Regions from separate parts of the Homo sapiens genome. Here region 2 is linked to region 1. The links are contacts of gene promoters, found by promoter capture Hi-C in blood cells and fetal thymus (Javierre and others, 2016). All regions are on one chromosome and are shown on one strand. Each heading gives the region's core, a stretch centred on a gene start or on the middle of the fragment in contact. The rest is flanking DNA. Distances are from core to core; before and after follow the strand shown.

Evidence for each region. The method cuts DNA at HindIII sites, captures the fragments that hold promoters and counts their contacts. A CHiCAGO score of 5 or more calls a contact.
Region 2: a fragment that was not itself captured here is called in contact with the fragment with the promoter of VAC14 in region 1 in 1 of 17 cell types (fetal thymus); the score reaches 5.9 in fetal thymus.

What each region holds. Positions count from the first base shown.
Region 1 is chr16:70,798,887-70,803,777 of GRCh38, forward strand. VAC14 (VAC14 component of PIKFYVE complex) reads right to left here and starts at 2,272. Exons shown (of 19, transcript NM_018052.5): 1 at 1,911-2,272. The coding sequence starts at 2,014. HYDIN (HYDIN axonemal central pair apparatus protein) reads right to left here. Exons shown (of 86, transcript NM_001270974.2): 86 at 3,198-4,891. RefSeq lists enhancers at 1,958-2,580, 2,248-2,307 and a silencer at 1,978-2,167. The HindIII fragment of the contact is 5,317 bases long and covers 1-3,122 here.
Region 2 is chr16:70,295,601-70,300,491 of GRCh38, forward strand. DDX19B (DEAD-box helicase 19B) reads left to right here and starts at 3,586. Exons shown (of 12, transcript NM_007242.7): 1 at 3,586-3,754. The coding sequence starts at 3,698. RefSeq lists enhancers at 3,406-3,700, 3,432-3,661. The HindIII fragment of the contact is 1,426 bases long and covers 2,035-3,460 here.

The DNA of each region.
Region 1 (4,891 bases), core at 1,022-3,521:
AAGTGCTAAGGATAAATAAAACAGATACATAAACAGAACTCTCTGCTCTTAAGGAGTTCACAGTCAAGGCACTGCTGAGTTTCTCTAAATTCCACAAATCAAGGGCAATGTCCAATACAAAATGAACTCGATCAAAGACAAAACCCTTACAGAACTGTGTGCAGAGTGAGAACAGATACACAGGTTGCGCTGGAAGCAACAATAATGTTGAGATGAATACCTCTCTCTTCAAGGACTCAACAGACGACTCAAGCTACAATAAAACCGGATATTCCTGAGAAGCAGAGTGGGTGAGGGACAAAACTAGGTGTCAAGGCAACTTCAAAGCCAACAAAACCCCATGGACACGGAACCATGCCTATATATCATTTCTGGGTCCCTCTATTCAGTATGGCAATGTGCAATAAGACTTGCTAGCATTCGTGAGAGTCAGGCATAAACAAAAAGCTATATAAAAGGAGCAGTCAAGAAAGTGGTGTCTGATGAGAGAAGCAGCTAGATGGTTGTGGACATACTGAGTATGAGAGCTGAATGGAGGCAGGGTGGGGGATTTCTTATCAAGGTCCGAACCCTTTAGTTTAGGAGGAAACTAAAATCCAAAGCAACATTTGATTTGGATTGCAAGCAGCAGTTGTCAACCGGGGCAATTTTGCTCCTTCAGGGGACATTTAGCAATGTCTGAAGACATTTTTGATTGTTACAACGGATGGAGTGCTACTGGCATCCAGTGGGAAGAGGTCAGAGACGCTGTTAAAAATCCTGCAAGGCACAGGACAGCCCACTACAACCAAAAATCATCTGCCCCAAAATGTGAATGGTGCAGAGGCTGAGAAACCCTGAGTTAAGGAATTTGCCCCAGGTTAACGAATGAATGTCACACCACGGAATAGATTAGAGCAGTCCAATAGAGCATTCTGCAATGATGGAAACAGTCTATAATCTGTGCTGCCCTATATAGCAGCCAATAGCTACATGTGGCTATTGAACACTTGAAATACGGGTAGTGTGACTGAGAAACTAAAGTTTAATCTTTAATAATTTAAATTTATAATAGCTACGCACGGCCAACGGCTACTCTACTGGACAGAACAGAAATACAATTCACCTTTTCTGACTCGCAGACTGGTATTCTTCCAGTTTCACAGCCTGCTTCTTTCCAATTTTCTGAAATCACTCACTCACTTGACTTTAACACTAAAATGTGACTGGGAAAAAACCCACAAAAGTAAAATAATACTGCAGAAAAAAAAATAAATAAAACATCCCCAGTTAAACTTTCGCTGTTTTGTACATTGGGAAATAAAGTAAAATATCAGATCATTGTTACACATACATGTAACAAGACTGCAGAAGCAAGAAAGGTCAAATTATTTCTACTTCCACTTGCAGGGAAGGGTGTTATAACACAGATAAAACAAAAAACTCTCTGAGCCTTGAGATCACGAGTTTTCCGACCTGATTTCTCTACTTGGTCACTAACAATCTCCTTCACTTCTCAGAAGCTGGGTAAGAAACCAGGCTGGTCAGCATCACCTGCAAATTCTCCGGCTTCTGACTTCTCTCTCACCACAGAGACAACTCTCTGATTTGCTGGTTTGGGTGGCACCGCACCGAAGACTCACCATGTGCCATGCACTGTGCAAAGCACTACCCATACATGATGTCACTTCATTCTCACTGCAGCCCTTTGTGGCACCGGGAGGTTAAAAAGCTGGGACCAAATCACACAGCCAGTCAGGAGTAAAGCAGGGACTCCCAGATATGGCTCCCAATCTGCTCTTAAACACTGCGCTAAGGTAAGGGCCTAAAACCTGGGAAAGTAACCCTGGCTGGGAAGGCGTGAGAAGTCCCCCTGGGGAGCAGAGCAGTCAGGGGCTGCATAGCCAGGGAGGGGTCCTGGCGGCTCTTACTTCTCGATCTCCAGCGCTGCCACCTTCCGCTTTTCGTACAGCTTGTCATTGAGGGCGCGCACGATGTTAGGCGTGAGCGGCGCGAAATCCTTCTCGGGGTTCATGGTGGCAGCTGGGGGAACCTCGCGACTCCTTAGCCCGCGGCTGCCGGGGCCGCGCCGGGGCCAGGGGAGTCTGCGGCTCCGCTCTGCCCCCGGCGCCGGCGCATGGACCACGCCGCTCTAGGCTTGCCTGCCACGCTCCGCCGCCTCGCCCTGGAACCCGGGCCCGGACCCCGCTCCAGCACACCTGACCCTGGCCGCTTAACAACTCCCGCCCGGCACTAGCGGGACTCACGAGACAGCGGCCATGTTACTCGAGTCACATGACTCTACAGCACTTCCGCCTTCCGTCGCGAGGGCCCGCCCCTCTCCAGCCACGCCCCCACCGCAGGCCGCAGGTGGATTGGCCACGCCCTCGGAAGGCTCCACCCACACTGCACACACTATCGCGCTGCGCGCCAGGTAGCTGGAGTGTGGTTTGAGACGTGCTTTAATGGGTGTGTAGCTCACGCCCAACTGATGGCACGTGGTGGGCTTCTGTAGACGTTCGTAAGACCGAATGGGTTCTTGGAGTCTGATTCACTTAACATAATTTATTCAATAGTCACCGAATTCACTAGTTCATTCAGTAGTTGGTCACTTACCAATTTCCTAGATGCAGACGTTTCCCTAACTGCAGTAACACTGTCATCACTTTCACCATATTCTAGCCACTTGTATTATCTATTTAATGTTTTCCTCAAATCAACTCACTTTAAAAAATACCTTAAATCTCTTTTAGCTTTGCTTATGCCCTAAAACCATGAGTTTGAATAGGTATATTTTTTCTAAGACACATCAAAATAAATTCTCAATTAAAAATGGCACTACCTGTCTACCACCTAAGATCTCAGGTACCACCAGTGTCTGTCACTCCACCATTTGGGGGTGTGTTTAACATGCTCTGATGCCTAGGAGGGCTGGTTACAGACAGAGAGAAAGGCCCCAGATCTGCTGAGTGCGGGTCTCTAGATAGGTCCCCTGGAAAGCAGCCCCTTCAGCTGCTTCGGGAATCACATTACATGGTGAGACAGAAATCCCAACTATGTGGCAAAATATTTAAAAGCAATTTATGGCCGGAGTGTGGTAAACATGCAGTTAACAGGGAGGTGCATCAGCCTTTCCTATCATAAGCTTTCAGAGTGAACAGGGACTTAGGACAAGGGCTAGATTACAGTGGAGCTCAAAGAATAACAGTTTCAGAATGCATGGTGATACTTTTCTTTAATGAATGAAAAGTGCATATATAGGCCTTATAACAGTCTTGAAAATGGAGTATTTTCCTCAACAGAAACAGGGACGCAATGAGTAAAGGGCAAAAGTAGGCAGAATTCTAGGATGACCTCCAATATTCCCACCCCTTCGTGTTCATGCCCTGTATTATGCCCTCTTTCAGCGTGAACAAGACTTGTAAATATGATGGGCTATGCATCACTCACATGATTATATTATGTAATATCGCAGAAGAGATTTTGCAGATGTAATTAAGGTCCCTAATCAGCAGACATTGAATTAATAAAAAGAGAGATTAACTTGAGTCGGCCTGACCGAATCAAGTGAGTACTTAAAAGAGATTAGAAGAAATTTGAACTGGAAGAGAGACTCTCCTGTAAGGAGTTTAGTCATATGGCCACAAAGGAATGAATTTTGCCAACACATTGAGGGTCCTTGGAAGCAGATCTTTCCCTAGTTGAGCCTCCTGATGAGGATGCAGCTGGCCAGCACCTTGATTTCAGCCTTGTGGAACCCTGAGCTGAGAATCCAGTTCACACTGGGCTCTCAACCCATGGAAACTGTGAGATAATAAATTTGTGTTGTTTTGCTCTCCTAGTTTTGTGGTAATTTGTTATGCAGCCATAGAAAATGAATACAAAGGCTAATCCAAAACTCGGCAAGTCATGGATATATCATGTCTAGAAAAATCCATAAAAAATGTATTCTCCTATACAGGTGGGGTTTTCATAGTTGTTAAAACCTTTGCTGACACAATCCTATGAATGAAGGTAGGTGCGCTAACAAGTAGTAGTAGTGCTGCCAAGGACATCTCCAAATGTCTTGCAAAGTTTGGTTTTAGGATTTTGATGATGGTTGATGAAAAACACTGAAAAAATGTAAATCAATGGGAATGATTTGGTTCTATTTCTCCAATGTGTGTGCATTTCCACGGGACGCATATCTAATATATTTCATGTTTCTTTTGCTTTTTGGTTTGGCTTTTTCTTAGAGGTGAACTGAATTTCCCAAGGGTAATGATACAGTTTTTAATAATTCAAACAATAAGGAATTTTTTTTTTACCAGAAGTATTCTTTTCTCCTGAAATTATATTCTGGCTCAGGTTGCTAAGTAACCAGTTTTTTATTCAAGGCCCAGACCAATGCCTACCTTTAGGTCAGAAGTTCCTAGAAAGAAGTGGTTCTTTTCTCTAATATCTTGAAAAATGCCAACTAGGTAAGATTATTTATGCATAATTGAGCTAGCAGTGGTGGTAAAAATAAAGCCCAAAGGCTACCCTTGCCTTCCACCCTTGTTCCTCTTCTCTGACCTGTGACCATTCCTGTTGAAACTCTTCTAGACTAGGGGATAACTGATGTGCCTGACTGCATACTAGTCATTATTTCACAGTTACAATTCATCTGCATCTGTGTGATGCTTGGTTGTTATGCTAGAACTTGTAATAGTTCTGTAACAACTATTCATAATAGCTATTACAAGTATGTAAAAGTTATGACATAACTTGTAGCAAGAGGCTGCTGATGACATTGTAAGAAATTGTACCAAAATCTTGAACTGTGCAAAGCAGTTTCTCCAACAGCAATGTAATTGTAGCTGGAGTTTCAGGGCAACAGGGTTTAAGGTATTAGGTAGAGGTCTTGAAATGTAGCAGGCCCTCACCAATGTTA
Region 2 (4,891 bases), core at 1,498-3,997, 500 kb before region 1:
CGGAGATTATCAATTGGACCTTAGTAATTTTATTTATTAAGTTTTGAGGTGGGAATCTAAGTATTTGTTATACCCTTTCTTGTTTGTCTGAAATACATTTTTAAAAGGGAAACATGGAGCCAAGCACAGCTGCACACACCTGTAGTCCCAGCTACTTGGGAAGCAGAGGCAGGTGAACCTCTTGAACTCAGGAGTTCAAGGATATAGTATGTGCTGTAATGGTGCCTGTGAATAGCCACTGCACTCCAGCCTGGGCAACATAGCAAGACCCTGTCTCTAATTTAAAAAAAACCATGCATATGGAAAATAATTTCAGAGGATAAAGCATACTCAATCCACCCCCACCCTTCTAGAGGCCCTCACCAGGGGCAGCCATGGTTATCAGTTTTGTGTGTATCTTAAGCATTTTTTTTTTTTTTTTTGAGACAGAGGCTCGCTCTGTTGCCCAGGCTGGAGTGCAGTGGCATGATCTCAGCTCACTGCAACCTCTGCCTCCTGGGTTCAAGCAATTCTCTGCCTCAGCCTCCCAAGTAGCTGGGATTACAGGCACCCACCACCATGCTCAGCTGATTTTTGTATTTTTAGTAGAGACAGAGTTTCACCATCTTGACCAGGCTGATCTTGAACTCCTGACCTCGTGATCCACCACCTTGGCCTCCCAAACTGCTGGGATTACAGGCGTGAGCCACCGCACCTGGCCACATTTTTTTTTTTTTTAAGAGGCGATGGTTTCACTATGTTGTCCAGGCTGGCTTCGAACTTCTGAGCTCAGGCGATCCTCCAACCTCAGCTTCAGGAGTAGCTGGGACTGCAGACACAGGCCACTGCTCCGGTCTTCTTAGGCATTTTCCATAGTGTATAAAAGCATATATGGGAGCTTGGGGGCTTTTGGGGTGGGGGTTCCTGTTTGTTTTGTACAAGTGAACCTACTATATACGGTCCTGCAACTTGGGCGATGTAATTTTTAACCTCATTAAAATGTTTTGCAAATTTCATTAACCTCTAGCCCTGTGAAACAATATAATTTATCTGGGAAAATATCCCCAGGGTTGCTTCTGAATTGATGAGATGTAGGTCATGGCTACCAAGGTGGTGTTTGCCTTTTTCTTTTTAGCACATCCTCATGTGTAAGGTCAAAAACAAAAAACAAAAACGTCTTCTCCAGTTAACCCTGTGAGAGTGCAGGAAAAAATAATCATAGCAAGTAGAATGTTCTCTGGAACTGCTTTACCCTTTCTCAAAACGTTTTTACTCTTACAGTACTGGTAAAATTCCACAGAGAACCCACCATGGCTTGATTTTTGTTTGTTTGTTTTTATTTATGTATTTATTTGAGACAGAGTCTTGCTCTGTCGTCCAGGCTGGAGTGCAGTGGCATGATCTTGGCTCACTGCAACCTCCACCTCCCGGGTTCAAGCGATTCTCCTGCCTCAGCCTCCCAAGTAGCTGGGACTACAGGTGCATGCCACCACACCCAGCTAATTTTTGTATTTTTAGTAGAGACAGGGTTTCACCATGTTGGTCAGGATGGTCTCAATCTCCTGACCTCGTGATCCACCTGCTTTGGCCTCCCAAAGTGCTGGGATTACAGGTGCAAGCCACCGTGCCCAGTCTATTTATTTATTTTTTTTGAGACAGAGTTTCACTCGTCGCCCAGGCTGCAGTGTGATGGCATGATCTCGGCTCACTGCAACCTTTGCCTTCCGGGTTCTAGTGATTCTCCTGCCTCAGGCTTACAAGTAGCTGGGATTACAGGTGTGCACCACCATGCTTGGCTAATTTTTGTATTTTTAGTAGAGATAGGGTTTCACCATGTTGGCCAAGCTGGTCTTGATATCCTGACCTCAGGTGATCCACCCACCTTGGCCTCCCAAAGTGCTGGGATTACAGGTGTGAGCCATTGTGCCCGGCCTCATGGCTTGAAATTAACTTATTGTTGTATAATATTGGCAAAATGAAAGAGGTTGGGATTCATTTTTTTCAGATTGTAGGAAAATGCCTAGTTTCTTTCTAGGGAAGTAACAAGGGAAGAGAAGCTTCTTTGATTCTAGTTAGGAGAAAGCAGTTCTTTCATTTAATCCTTATTTTACAACTACTAAAAGCCCAAGATATTTCTTCCTATTTATTTATTTGTTTATGAGGCAGAGTCTTACTCTGTTGCGCAGACTAGAGTGCAGTGACACAAACACTGCTAACTGCAGCCTCAACCTCCTGGGCTCAAGTGATCCTCCCACCTCAGCCTCCCAAGTAGCTGGAACTGCAGGCATGTGCGACGACACCTGGCTAATTTTTAAATTTTTCTTGTGTAAGGATAAGGCCTCGCTATGTTGTTGTTTTCAAACTCCTGGATTCAAGCGATCCTCCCACCTCCACCTCCCAAAATGCTAGGATTACACATGTGAGCTACTGTGCCTGGCCAATCCTGGCACTTTGGGAGGTGGAGGTGGGAGGATCACTTGAGCTCAGGAGTTTGAGACCAGCCAGGACAACACAGCAAGATCTGTCTCTATCTTAAAAAAACAAAAGGCCGGGTGCAGTGGCTCACGCCTGTAATCCCAGCACTTTGGGAGGCCAAGGCAGGCGGATCACGAGGTCAGGAGATTGAGACCATCCTGGCCAACATGGTGAAACACCATCTCTATTAAAAATAGAAAAACTAGCTGGGCATGGTGGCGCATGCTTGTAATCCCAGCTACTTGGGAGGCTGAGGCAAGAGAATTTCTTGAACCCAGGAGGTGGAGGTTGCAGTGAGCCGAAATCGTGCCACTGCACTCCAGCCTGGGCGACAGAGCCAGACTCAATCTCAAAAAACAAACAAAAACCCAAGTGCTGAGATTACAGGCATGAGCCACCACACCTAGCTCTATTTAATTATTTTACTATTTTAATTTTATTTATTTTTTTCCTAGACAGAGTTTTGCTCTGTCACCCAGGCTGGAGTGCAGTGGCCCTGTCATGGCTCACTGCAGCCTAGACCTCCTGGGCTCAAGTGATCCTTCCGCCTCGGCCTCCAGAAGTGCTGGGATTACATGCATGAGCCACCGCACCGTCTGTTTTCTTCCTTTTTAACATTCTCCTGATTCTACAACGCTTACATAGGAGAGCTGCAATTCCTCCTCTTGGGGTACAAATTTATGAGTGCAGGTGCAGTTTTGTTACATGCCTAACAAGATTGCATAGTGGTCAAGTGGACTTTTAACCAAATGGGTTGTCAGGGCTGATTGCCAACATCTGGACATTTTAAATTACCAATCTGAAAAGGGAAACAGCTCTGTGCTTGTTTTGCATTTTGGTGACTATTGGTAATGGTTTTCTGTTTTGATATATTCAATCTGTTCAATCTGTATTAGTGCCTACTCTGCCACTGTGTTGGGCGGGAATCTGATTTTGTTCTTTGGTTGGAGATCCAAGTTAACCAGAGCTTAGGCATTTTAAGATAACTACCTCAGCTTGATAGGAAAGCTTGCTCTGCCCGGGGTTGAGGGGTACGGGTCTGAGGGCAACAGAATCGACAGCCTCAAGTGGGCAAAGGGTGGCCAAACAGGAGTGGCCTCCGACGTCACTGTGGCGCGCCGCTTCCGGTCTGCAGCCTTGTAGTGGGGCTGGAGCAGAGCCTGCCGCGAACCCCCGGAGCCCACGATCCCTCGTGCCATCCCTCGAATCCACCAGCACGAGCGTCCCACCCGCGCCTGGGACCATGGCCACTGACTCATGGGCCCTGGCGGTGGACGAGCAGGAAGCTGCGGCTGAGTCGGTGAGTTGGCTTCAGCCCTAAAAGGGTCAGGGGACTAGTTCTGGTCGGAGACTTGGTCCCTGGGAAAGAATGTTTCCCAGGTTGATTAGAGGCTGGATGGGGTGGCGGGGAGGATAGGGATGGAGCCTGGACCCTGAGCTGGCTTTGTTTACGCAGCCGCCTCCGCGTTACGTAAGCGCAGGTGAGTGCTCCTATCGGTAAAGCGCTCAGCTGCCTGTCTGTCTTCCTGGAACCAGGAAGAATCATAGATTGCACCCATCACCCTAGATTGTGTTTTGTTTGTTTTTAATTGAAATAGAGACATGGTCTTGCTAGGTTGCCCAGGCTAGTCTGGAACTCCTGGTCTCAAGCTATCTTCCTGCCTCGGCCTTTCAAAGCACCAGGATTACAGGCTGAGCCATTGTTCCTGGCCGCCCCGGTTTGTAATAGTTATTTTAGGTGTCATTCTCCACCTCTACATTCAGAGCTTCTTTGGCTCAGGGACCATGTCTTTGCTCATATTTGTGTGCTTCCTCAGTGATAAATGATGGACCCAGTAGGTGTGGCAGTCAGCAAATCCTTTCCTCATCGGCTTCACTTTGTTCTTTTTTTCTGGACCTGACACATGGTAAGCAAGAGATGTGTTAAACACTACTGCGTAGAATTAATTTCTCCCACCGAAACACTTTAAATCCTAGTAGGCTTTGAACCTACTTCTGTTAGTACTTATTGCTATGACTTCCTCAAGAATAAGAACCTTGTCTTTTATTTTTTATAGCTCATAAAAAATAAGTTGTATATACACATTGTTTAAAGAGTGAAGTTATTTTAAAAACAACGGTTCCCGCCAATTTTTTTCCTCCCCAGAGGCAACTCCTTTTTTTTTTTTGGAGACAGGGTCACACTCTGTTGCCCAGGCTAGGGTGCAGTGGAGTGATCTTGGCTCACTGCAGTCTCTGCCTCCCAGGCTCAAGCCATCCTCCCACCTCAGCCTCCTGAGTAACTGGGACTGTAGTCATGTGCCACTATGCCCAACTACTTTTTGTATTTTTTTTGTAGAGATGGGGACTTGCCATGTTGCCCAGGCTGGTCTCGAACTCCAGCGTGCAAGTGATCCACCTGCCTCAGCCTCCCAAAGTGCTGGGATTACAGGTGTGA